Regions from separate parts of the Homo sapiens genome. Here all the other regions are linked to region 1. Evidence: promoter capture Hi-C in human tissues and cell types (Jung and others, 2019). All regions are on one chromosome and are shown on one strand. The core of a region is centred on a gene start or on the middle of the fragment in contact, and the rest is flanking DNA. Distances in the headings are between cores, read along the strand shown. Region 1 holds the start of SPINT3 (serine peptidase inhibitor, Kunitz type 3). Region 2 has its middle 12 kb from the start of WFDC8. Region 3 overlaps WFDC9 (WAP four-disulfide core domain 9). Region 4 overlaps SYS1-DBNDD2 (SYS1-DBNDD2 readthrough (NMD candidate)).

The links. The method cuts DNA at HindIII sites, captures the fragments that hold promoters and counts their contacts. A contact is called where the count stands out against the background at its distance.
Region 2: a contact is called between a fragment that was not itself captured here and the fragment with the promoter of SPINT3 in region 1, in 4 of the 25 tissues and cell types used here (liver, mesendoderm cells, neural progenitor cells and 1 more).
Region 3: a fragment that was not itself captured here is called in contact with the fragment with the promoter of SPINT3 in region 1 in 3 of the 25 tissues and cell types used here (dorsolateral prefrontal cortex, pancreas and spleen).
Region 4: a contact is called between a fragment that was not itself captured here and the fragment with the promoter of SPINT3 in region 1, in 2 of the 25 tissues and cell types used here (liver and mesendoderm cells).

What each region holds. Positions count from the first base shown.
Region 1 is chr20:45,513,721-45,516,899 of GRCh38, forward strand. It overlaps SPINT3 (serine peptidase inhibitor, Kunitz type 3), which reads right to left and starts at 1,902. Exons shown (of 2, transcript NM_006652.2): 1 at 1,813-1,902. The coding sequence starts at 1,888. All of the region lies in intron 1 of LOC107987282 (a long non-coding RNA gene), which reads left to right. The HindIII fragment of the contact is 13,872 bases long and covers 1-3,179 here.
Region 2 is chr20:45,589,835-45,592,753 of GRCh38, forward strand. No RefSeq gene overlaps it. Among named protein-coding and RNA genes, the nearest start is that of WFDC8, 12 kb to the left of the region's middle. The HindIII fragment of the contact is 5,861 bases long and covers 1-2,919 here.
Region 3 is chr20:45,608,170-45,611,154 of GRCh38, forward strand. It overlaps WFDC9 (WAP four-disulfide core domain 9), which reads right to left. Exons shown (of 5, transcript NM_147198.4): 3 at 1,922-2,070; 4 at 494-641. The coding sequence starts at 2,012. Among named protein-coding and RNA genes, the nearest start is that of WFDC10A, 20 kb to the right of the region's middle. The HindIII fragment of the contact is 3,512 bases long and covers 1-2,985 here.
Region 4 is chr20:45,388,529-45,391,610 of GRCh38, forward strand. The region is part of intron 3 of SYS1-DBNDD2 (SYS1-DBNDD2 readthrough (NMD candidate)); the gene reads left to right. It also overlaps the pseudogene NDUFB4P10. Among named protein-coding and RNA genes, the nearest start is that of TP53TG5, 12 kb to the left of the region's middle. The HindIII fragment of the contact is 5,202 bases long and covers 1-3,082 here.

The DNA of each region.
Region 1 (3,179 bases), core at 652-3,151:
TGTTTCTGTCACCATGTGGGCAGTTTTACTCTTCATGGTAGCTAGTAGAATTTCCAACATTATGTGAAGAAACTAAGGCCAGATAAATGAAGTACCTGTCCTAATGTCAGGCTAGGAAGCAGTAGGACCAAGAATCAAACCCAGCATGGTTCGACTGCAAAGGCTTGCAGGTTCTCCATCCATCTTGGTTGTTGTAAAATGAGTGAATGCACAGATGAATGATCACACCTATGGTGGAACTTCAGGCAGCAGCCTAGGGCTTGGAAAGGTTCAGACTCTGTCTTATCCTCCTACCTGCAAGGCTGACGCTAAGGGTGCAGGAGAATGGGGAAGAGGCAGAATAGCTTATTCAATCCAGGTGGGAGGTGGAGGGGCATGTTCTTAAGACATCCTAGTCACTGCATCATCGGCCCTTAGACCCTTACAGGTGACTCTGTAGGGGCTGGAGTCCCATCTGCTCTTAGTTTTCTCAGTCTTGCTTCTCTGCTCTTCCATTCCATTAAACCAAAGGAAAATCACTTGACTTGCTTCTTTTTTATGTAAAGTAGATAATGACACCCTGTGTGTGTGTTTTGAGTGTGACAGAAGCTGTTCTAAGTGCTTTACAAGAATCTATTAAGAGCTAAGTTATACTGAGAGCTTGACATACATCAGACTATTTGATTAATAAAGCAGAAAAGATGGTTAATCTTTTTTTATAGAAGAAGAAACTGATGCTCAGAGAGGCTATAAATGATGTTCCTGAGGCACAGAGTTTGTAAGTAGAGGAGCCTGGACCAGAACCCAGGTGTGTCTGACTCCAGGAATGCTCATACTGTAAACCACTACATTCTTCTTACTTATGGCAGACATTTTCAAACTTGAGTATGCGTCAGAATCATCTAGAAGGCTTGTTAGAGAGACCCACCTCCACAGTTTCTGATCAGGTGGGACTGGGAACTAGCATGTTTCCAGTTGATACTGCTGCTGCTATTGCTGTCAGACTAGGGGACAAACTCGAGAACCACTCATCTATAAGGTTATTGGGAGGTTTAGAGTTCCATTTATGTCTAAGAATCTATCATTAATAGCTCCATGTACATACATGCAGAGAACTATGCTTGCACATGCAAGAATGTTCACTGGCACATTGACAGTGATAATCTCCAGAGGGTAAGATTTTGATAATTTTTCACCTTCTTTCTTACCCTTTTGTGTATTCTAATATGCATTTTTATACAGGGCATCCTACTGGCTGCTTAAAAATCTTGGAAACTGCTGCCTACCATCCCCATTTCCAGCAGATTATCTTAGCTATAACTGCACTTCATCTCCCCACTTCCATTTGCAGATTCCAAGCTTCCACAGAGAAAGTGGTCCAGGAAGGAGCCTTTTCTGACAAGTGCATCTAACTTGGCTAAGTCCCTCACTCTCAAATTCTGGCTCTGATCTCCTTTTCCCAACCTCTCCTTGCCTGCCACCAGCCCCACCCCAGACATTGAAGGCCCCTTTTCCTGCTTTACTTATTTCATTTTCTATAGCACTTTGATCATCTATCATTTGTATTAGGTATTGTATGTCTCTCTCCCATTAGCATCTTAATTTCACAAAGGCAGGGTCTCAGGCTCTTTGCTTTAACCTCAGCACCTAGGACAGTGCCTGGCACATAACTATGTGCCCAACATATGTCTGATGAAGTGAATTGAACTGAATTGACTCTCAATCCGGTAAGGTAAGAAATGGGCTCTGTTTGTGCTGCATCACCTCCCCCACCACCCCGCCCCCCAGCCTGATTCCCAGTCTATTCTTTGAGATCCCACATTTCATACCAACCTCGTGCTAGTTCTGATCGAAGCTCTAGGCAGAGAGTGAGAATCAGGAGAAACGAGAGAGAGGCCTGAAGCTGCATGGTGCCACTCAGCCAGTGGCTCAGCCTGGGGTTGCCATTTTAGGGAGAAAAGGGACCAAGGGGAGGAGCCTGGCCCCACATCCAGCTCATTCACCTTTAACTCAGGCTTTTCATGGGGCTGGGCTGCCTCAGGAACAGAGTGTTCAGCCAAAGCACAGCTTCACCTCTCTCCTCCTGGCCTTATCTGATCTGGCCACCCAGGCTACTTTAGTACCACTTCAGGGTGGAAGCCTTTTTCACAATAATAAAAAGACAGCAGCCATTTTTGAGTACCTTTCCTTTTCCAGGCACCATGCAAAATAGTTTTCACACATTGCTTCCCTTAAGTCTACACGGGAATCCCACAACACTAACACTCCCATTTTGTAGATGAGAGGAGGTTATGCTACTTTGACCATTGTTACATGGACAGCAAGTTTCAGAGACAAGACTGAGACCCCGGTCTGTCTGCTTCAGTGCCCTCGTATCACTCATTCATTCAACAAACATTCATCAAGTACCCACACTGCACCAGGCAAAGTATTAGATGCTGCCTCCATCCCATCTGGGTGCTCCCAGGAAATTATGGCAACAACACACACAAACACATTGGAAGTCAGAAACAGTCACCTACTTGGAGGAGGAGCAGATTCATTATATTTTAATAGAAATATCAAAAGCACCATGTAGAAGGAGGGCCCAGCTTTGTTTGCTTCAGAGGGTCATGGTCTCTAGAGACACACCCCCAGAATCCAGCACATTCCAACTGTCTCCTTTCCTTGACTCTCTAGAGATCCATTTTTTTTGAAAGACAAAGCCAGCATGCTTTAGGGAGATTTAGTGAGCCTCAGATTTAAAATTTGAGGTTGTGATGGGTCCAGCTATTCTTTTTCAAGAAGCATTCTATCATATATTTATTATTATTTATTTTTAATTGAGAAATAAAAATTGTATAAAGGCAGTCCCCAATTTACAATGGTTTGACTTACAGTGTTTGACTTTATGATGGTGCAAACACAATGCACAGTCAGTAAAAACAGTACTTGGAATACCCATACAACCATTCTGTGTTCACTTTTAGAACAGTATTCAATAAATTACATTAGATATTCAACACTTCATTATAAAAGGGGCTTTGTGTTAGATGATTTTGCCCAACTGTAGACTAGTATAAGTGTTCTGAGCAAGTTTAAGGTAGGTAAGGCTAAGCTATGATGTTTGGTAGGTTAGGTGTATTAAATGCATTTCAACTTCTGATATCTTCAACTTAGGCTAGGTTTATTAGGCTATAATCTCATCATAAGTTGAGAAA
Region 2 (2,919 bases), core at 180-2,679, 76 kb after region 1:
GGAGTATCAGCAATTTGGACATCTGAGTAAAGCTGGCAGGAGACTCAGGATTTTACCAGGCTCTGCTGGGGGTAGAAAAGGGTTCCAGATGAGGAGTTTGGAGAATGTGTGACTCGACTCTCACTACCTTATCTGGTTCTGCCTCCTCCACTCCTCTGGCCATCACTCCCTGGGTGGGCACTGGCTTCTCACAAAGTACTTCCTTTTTCTTATAGCTCATACACCTCTCATTGCAGAAATAAATTCTCCACACTTTTTTTTAATTTTTGAAATTTGAAAAATATACATTTGAAAAACAGAAAAGAACAAAGAGAAGTAATGAGATAGTAGTTATTCCTTACCTAGAGATAATAACTGTTGATAATTTACTACGTGTCCAGATTTTTTTACTGTATCAATACATATATCATCTGAATTTATATCTAATCTTTACCTCTACTCATATATAATCTATATATATGTGTTTTTCATCAAATATGCCTCAGATTATACATGCTGTTTCTAACTTTTTTCATTTAATCAAATATTGCAGAAATAATTTATTTTCTATAAAATGATTTTGGGAGCAAGTACTGTTTTCTTTATGTATACTGCACACAAGTGCATAAATCATTAGTGGATTTTTACTACATACATACCCATCTAGACACCACCCAGATTAAGAAAGAGATCATCAGATAATATTCCTCTTCTCTCATCCAAGAAAAGGTCATCGCTATTTTAAATTTTATCACCATCAATTAGACTTGCCTATTTTAAACTTTATATAAATGGAATAATACAGTGTGTATTATTTTGTGTCTGGCTTCTTTTGCTCAACATCATGTTTGGAAAGTCCGTCTATATTGTGGATGTTGTTCATTCAATTTCATTGTTATATAATATTCCATTGAATGAATATAATATTTAATCCATTCCACTTTTGATAGATATTTGGATTGTATCCAAGTTAGAGTCTTATGAATGTTTCTATGACCACTTTTATATATGGCACTGGGCATACATATAGATATTCCTGTTGGGTATATACCTAGAAGTGGAATTTTTGGGTCATAGGATATGCATATGTTCAGTTTTAGGAGATCTGCCAAACAGTTTTCCAAATTGGTTATATCAGTATACATTCTCATCAGCAGAATATGAGACTTCCAGTGATGCTGATTTTTCTGCAACATTTAGGTTTCTTAAAAACTTTTTTTTTTTTTTTAGATGGAGTCTTGCTTTGTTGCCCAGGCTGGAGTGCAGTGGCGTGATCTTGGCTCACTGCAAGCTCCACCTCCCGGGTTCACGCCATTCTCCTGCCTCAGCCTCCCAAGTAGCTGGGACTACAGGCACCCACCACCACACCTGGCTAATTTTTTGTATTTTTAGTAGAGACAGGGTTTCACCGTGTTAGCCAGGATGGTCTCGATCTCCTGACCTCGTGGTGCACCCGCCTCGGCCTCCCAAAGTGCTGGGATTACAGGCATGAGCCACCGCGCCCTGCCTTAAAAAATCTTTTTCATTTTAGCCCTTCTGTTATGTGTGTGTTTTGTGATTTGAATTTGCATTTTCCTGATAACTAATCAAGTTGGGCACCTTTTTATTACCTTTTATTGAACATTTGGATATTGTCTTTTATAAATTGGCTGGTTGAATCTTTTTGCTCATTTTTCAATTTTATGCCCTTTTCTTATTTATTACACATTCTTATATACCCTGGATATGAGTCCCTTGATAAATATGTATATTACAAATATCTTCTCTCACTCTGTAATTTGCTTTTTCACTCTCTTTTATTTTTTAATAAACAGAAATTATTATTTTAATGTAGTTCAATTTATCCATCTTTTCCCCTATGGTTAGTATTTTTGTTTCCCATTTAAGAAGGATTTCCTGCCCCAAAGTTATGAAGATATTCTTCTGTGTTATCTTCTAGCATCTTACGTTATATTTTTGACATTTAAATCTATAGTGTAACTTACAGATTTAAATATATACTTTAATGTATGTTTTTACTTCATTCACTTTTTTCTTTTTATTATTTTCTTCCTTCTAACTTCCACTGTGATTTTTATTTCTTTTTTTTTGTTCTGCCAATTTTTGCTTAATATATTTGATGCCGTATTACTAGATAAATCACATTTCAAACTACTATTTGTTTGTGGTGGATTGACAATTTCATCATCATGAAATGTCCAGTTTTATCTTTAATAATGCTTCTTGCTTTAAAGGCTACTTTGTCTGATATTAACATATTCATACTCACAGTCTTTTGTTAGCATTTGCATAGTATACTTGCTTACATCCTTCAACTTTCAAACCTTAAGGTAGATCTTTCAAACCTTATATTTAAGATAGATGTCTTAAGCTGCATTCGTTTTGTTTATTCACTCTGACAGTCTTTGTCTTTTATTTGTAATATTAGGTCTGTTTGTATTTAATGCAATAAATGATATATTTGGGTTTGTATCAACCAATTACTATGCAATTTCTATTGTCCAACAGCTGTTCTATTTTTCTTTTTATCCTTCTTGCACTTTGGATTAATCAAGCTTTTTTCCTATAATTTCATTAACACTGCCCCCCTCATTGACTTGTTAGTTAGTTATTCTCTTACATTACAAAATTCATCTTGGACTTATTAGGGTATAAAATAAAATTTGCATCCCAGGCAATGCAAAAATTTTCAAACATTTTACCTCCAAGTACTCACATCTTTTGTGTTTTTTTTTAATGTACCATAATTCTACATAAATCTAAATTCCATGGAAATTACTATTGACTGTATAATCAATAGTAACTTAAATAAAGATATCTCGGTTTTGGCCCTGTTGATGTTTTGGGCCATATAATTATTTGTTGTAAAAGGCTGTTCCACGCATTACGGATGTTTAGCAGCATCCTTGGTCTCTATCCACTAGATGTCAGTAGCACCAA
Region 3 (2,985 bases), core at 90-2,589, 94 kb after region 1:
GAATCCTGGGATAAATCCATTTCTAAAATTAATAGCATCCTAGGCCCCAGATGAAAAAGGACAGCAATTCTTCTGCTAAATCAGAAGTTACCCACTTTTAAGCAATTTCCCCCAAGAAGTTTGCCAACTGAACAGACAGATAGATACCAGGTCTCCTTGGGCCTGGCTGAGAGTAGAGCGCCCATGGAGACGCCCAACTAAGGGGTTAGTAATTGGAACTTTGGATAAAGGAGGGATGTATGAACTGTTGGGTGATATGTTGAGGGAAGCAAAGGGAACTGAATAAGAGTGAAGAAAAAAGTAGAGGACCTCATGTTGGTGTCTTGGTTTATTTTGCAGTGAGGAGCAGCCTAGGTTTGGAGATAGGAGGACATTGTCTTTTGCTGCCTATTTCTTTAACCAGGATTTGGGTGGCTGCGGTCTTTTGAATAGTCGGTAAGGACCAGTGATGAAGCATGCCCAGGCCCTAGCCTTCCCACCCCAACCAACTCACTCGTTGTCTAAGCAGATGTTTCCACAGTAGGTCCAGCAGCATGTATGATTTGGACGTACACAAGTCATTATTTTAGTACACCTTTTCTCACAGTACTTATATGGAGGCTGTACCCAGCACTGCTCAGTTTCTCTTATCATATCTAGAACTGAGATGGAAGAAGTTAGCAGGGTCCGTCTATTCACAACTCAGACAAGAAACCTTTTCTAAGCTTAACAATCCCTTCTGAAACTTGAGCTCCAAGCCACAAAGTATTTCTCTGCCTTCCAAGAAAATCCCTTCCTCAAATTATAACCAGTGTCTTGTCACAAGACCATCCTTGCATGGCCTGTGTTCCTCCATCTACATGTCCCTACAGCATTTCAGACTCTAAAGATAGGACCTGGGACACCCTGACCATATATGACACCAACCACCAAATTTATTCTCATGTAACCTTAGATTTCAGGGCCTGCAATATCCTCTAACTCCAATTTCCAAAGCCAATTTGCAGAGTGGGAAACTGAGCCAAGGGAGAATAGAAACTTACTTTTTTTCCCCTTCTCTTTTTTTTTTTTTTGAGACAGAGTCTTGCCCTGTCGCCCAGGCTGGAGTGCAACGGCATGATCTCAGCTCACTGCAACCTCCACTTCCCGGGTTCAAGCGATTCTCCTGCCTCAGCCTCCTGAGTAGCTGGGATTACAGGAGCACACCACCATGCCTGGCTAATTTTTTGTATCTTAATAGAGACGGGGTTTCACCATGTTGGTTGGGCAGTCTCGAACCCCTGACCTCGTGATCCGCCCACCTCAGCCTCCCAAAGTGCTGGGATTACAGGTGTGAGACGCCGTGCCCAGCCATTTTTCTCCCCTTCTATTTGTTTCCCTGATGATGCCACCTAAGAAGTCAGTCTCTCCATAAATTTTATTTCCCTGGCCCACAACCCTCCTGCTCAGTGTCTTTGTTGTCCACATTTTCTTATCATATGAACCCAAACTTTGACCCACTAAGGAGCCTTTATTTGTCTTTTCCATTTTTCATGTTCTAAAAGACTCTTCCCCTCCAACTAAATTAACGTGTTAAATATTACCCTTTTGGCATTCATCAAAGGCTCACCCAACTGAGGCACAAAGGTTCTGAAAATATGGGCTTGGAGGGAAGCTCTGTGTTGGTTTTTCCTCTACTGGTCTGATATTGGAAAATATTATTTCCTGCTAGCTGATGGAATATAGACAAAAGATACGTTCCCTTTTCACATACCTAGTGTTGCTTTCAGAGCTGAAAGAGAAAACTTAAAGGAATTGGGAATATCTAACCTAATCTTGCTTGAATATCTCTACTTAAGGAGAGATCCTTTAAAGCCTGATTCTTGACATGCAGGCCCTGGATCAGCTACAATAGACATCCCAGGACTGGGCAGAGCACCCCGTCCCTTTTCACACCACCCACAGGGATCTTTGTTCCAGAAGCTTCCCAGCACAGGCAGAAGCATCACAACTCCAGAGATGAACATGACGAGTAGAAGAATCCAGGGCTTCATGGTGCTCTCTGTGTGTATTTGGGTTAAGTTCTGGCAGAAGGCAAGTCTTTTCCCAATACTGCTAGACGTAGAAAATGGATTGAGGAGAACAGGGTAAGCAACAGGGGTAAAGTGCTTATGACTATCATGTTATTCTTTCCCTTTCTAGTACCCAGTAGCATACCAACCAACTCCCAGGCTAGCCAGTGACTTCCCCAGGTTTCTTCTCATCTCATATTACATACCCCTTCCTTTGCAAAATTATTTCTTATTAAAATGAATTTCTCCTGTCTGATTAAAAACAATAAATCCTCAGATTATATAATATGTAAAATTAAAAATACAAAGAGGAAATAAACAAGCATTAGCAATTCCACCATCTAGAGATAATCAATATATGTCTATACTTTTATGTTGTAGTCATTATTTTTATGAAATTGGACACATCAAGTGTCCTGATATTTTATTTTGAAGCATATGAAACATGATGATGTAAAGAAGTTTTAGTGAAGATCCTAAGACAAAAGGCACTAAAGCAATTTAAGAGGGAATTACAGATAGATAACAGGACTTGAGAAAAGATGATGGCCAAGAACTGTTAGGGGACTCAAAACTTTAATGCACTAAGATGGTCCAAAGTTGGAGGAATTGTAGAGAAGATTTTGAAGGAAATTTTATTGGTAAAAAGCTTTGCTCGTGAAAGCCGGAATGCTGCCTCCTAATTCCAAGTTGAGAGAAAAGGTTTTATGAATACGACTCATTGAGCTTGCTATGTGATCCTAGAAGTCTATGGGAACACAGTAGACTTGAATCATGACTGAAGACTTTAAAGGGTGACTTTAAATCTGGCCAAAGCGGCCTGTAGTAGCAGAGAAGAGGGCTCTAATTTGTGAAGTATCTGAACTGCAAATGGCCAGACGACATTTCATGTTTCCAATGAACCCTTGAAATCTCCCACGAAAGAGTCAAGACCAGAAGCACAGAACCAGCTCAT
Region 4 (3,082 bases), core at 567-3,066, 130 kb before region 1:
AGCCCTCGATGAATCATCATTGGTTAGGGTCATTGTGCTGATTAAGTACCCCTGTTTAAACCCAGATTTATGGCCAAATGCTCAGGTTGCAGTTTGTGGAGGTATGTCATATTCAGCTGGATTGAGGGTCATGGGCAGAGGGGCCAGGTGTGATGGAGTATAGTTTGGGAGAGTCATCTTGGTGACCCAGTGCACAACTGCGCCTCTTGACTCATGTATTATTCAGAAATGAGGTGTTTAATTTCCATATGTTTGGAGATTTACCTATTATCTTTTTGTTATTGATTTCTAGTTTGATTTCATTGTGATCTCAGAACACATGCTGTGCGATTTTGATTTTCAAAAATTCCTTGAGGCCGGGAGCAGTGGTTCATGCCTGTAATCCCAAGTCTCTTGGATGCCACGGTAGGAGGATCACTTGAGGATAGGAGTTGAAGGCTGCAGTAAGCCATGATCGGCACCACTGCACTCCGGCCTGGGCAATAGAGCAAGATGCTGTCTCTTTAAAAAAATTTTTTTTAGTTGACTTTTATTCTGTGACTTAAGATATAGTCTTGGTGAGTGTTCCATAAGCATTTCAAAAGAATGTGAATCTTGTTATTGTTATGTGAAGTATTGTCTAAATATTAATTAGATTCTTTTGATTGATGGCTTTTTAAAGTTCTTATACATCCTTGCTGCTTTCCTGTCTAGTGTTTCTTTTTTTTTTTTTTTGAGACAGAGTCTTGCTCTGTCGTCCAGGGTGGAGTGCAGTGGCACAATCTCGGCTCACTGCAGCCTCCGCCTCCCGGGTTCAAGCAATTCTCCTGCCTTAGCCTCCCGAGTAGCTGGGATTACAGGCGCCCGCCACCACACCCGGCTAATTTTTATATTTAGTAGAGACAGGGTTTCACCATGTTGGCCAGGCTGGTCTTGAACTCCTGACCTTAGGTGATCCACCCGCCTTGGCCTCCCAAAATGTTGGGATTACAGGTGTGAGCCACCATGCCCACCCTTCTGTCTAGTATTTCTATCAAGTGTTGAGAGAGATGTGTTGAAGTCTCCAACTTTAATAGTAGATGTCTATTTTTTTTTTCAGTTCTACCAATTTTTGTTTCATAGATTTTTAAGATCTGTTGTTTGGTATGTACACATGTATGATTGCTATGTCTTCTTTGTGATTTGACCCATTTAATATCTTTTTTTGGCCCTGGTGATTTTCTTTGCTCAGCAGTCTATTTCATCTGATATTGAAATTGCTAACTCTGCTTTCTTTTAATTAATCTTTGTATGGTGTATCTTTTTTCATCCTTTTATGTTCAGTCTACCTATGTCATATTTGAAGTGAGTTTCTTGTAGAGAGCTTATTTTGGGTCATTTTTTTCACTCCGTTTTGCCAGTCTCAGAGTTATAAAGTATATTTATAGACTACCGGCAGTTAATGCAATTATTTGTTAGGGTTTAAGCCTGCCATTTGATTGTTTTCTTTTCATTCCCTCTGCTTTTCATTCTTCTCTTTTATTTCTCTACTCTTCCTATGGGTTAAACAGTTTTTAGAATTCCATTTTTTTTATCTATGGTGAAGTGTTTTTTTTAAGTGTATCTCTTTGTGTAGGTTTTTTAGTGGCTGCTTTCTATATTACATCATACATAACATAATCTATGACCATCTACTGGTATCGACACTTTTGCCACTTTGAGTGAGGGATAGAAGCCTGACCTCTATTTAGGTCCCTTTACCCTTCTCCTTTCATAATGTAATTGTCTTAAATATCTTCATTACATAAATTGAATCCACATCAGACCATGTTATATAATTTCTGTTTTAGCCATCAAACATAATTTAGAAAATGCAAGTGAAGAAGGATAGCCCATCATATTTACCCATATTTTTATTATTTCCATTGTTCTTTCTTCACTCCTGATGTTTCGGGTTTTCTTCTTTCATCATTTCCTTTATGTTTGGAGAACTTCCTTTAGCCATTCTTTCACGGTACAGCAGGTCCTCAAATAATGTTATTTTGTTTAACGTCATTTCTTTATAATGTTGATGAGAAAAAAAAACAACAACTGATTCCCAGCCATGGCCACTGTCTGTGTAGAGTTTGCACATTCTCGTCATGTCTGTGTGGGTTTTCTCTGGGCACTCCAATTTCCTCCCACATCCCAGAGATGTGCACATTAGGTTAATTGGTGTATCTAAATTATCTAAATTATCCAAGTATGAGTGAGGGGTGTGTGTGTGTGTGCGTGCACGCATTCTGTGATGGAATGGCATCCTTTCCAGGGTGCCTTGCACCCTGAGCTGCCAGAATAAGATTCAGCCACCCAGGACCCTGAAATGGAATAAGCAGGTTGGAAATGAAGAATAAGTGAATACAAATTATTGTAAAATAAAAATTTGTAAAGTATATAATAATCATACAAATGCATAACAGTAAATAATTTGGTATAAGAGCACTCAGCCAGCCTGCCATATTTATTATTGTTTTTGAACTGCATGGTGGTAGGAGATACTCCTTACAATTTTTGCTCTGCAAAGATTTATTCCTTGGTTTAACTCACCACCATGATGACTGCTGTCACTCACTGCTTATACTAATCCAGCATGACCTCACTTTAATTACATCACCAATAGGTGAGTAAATAATGAACTTCCCTGTTTTATTAATCTTTCTTAAATGTATGTATAGCTCACATTTATTTTAATGTTTAATACTAGATGTGTCTGGGCATTTATTTAGAAGCGTGGTATTGTTTTTGTGACCAGAAGTATGCTGTATGGACTTACCTTGTTAATATCAATTAGTCTACGATAAACTTGCTTTCATTATACATCATTTTGGTTAAAGTTGCAGTTTCCAAGAAACTATTGATGACATTAAGGACTTACTATAGTTCTTCAGTTAACAAATTATGTTAGTTTTTCCTTCATTTGAGAATGTCTTGACTTTCATACCTGAAGGATTTTTTCACTTTGCTTAGCATTCTGGGTTGACGGTTTTTTCTTTCAGTACTTAAACATATTGTGCCACTTCTTTCTGGCTTTCACAGTTTCTGATGAGAAATCTGCTGCAATTTAAATTGTTGCTGTATTATTGGT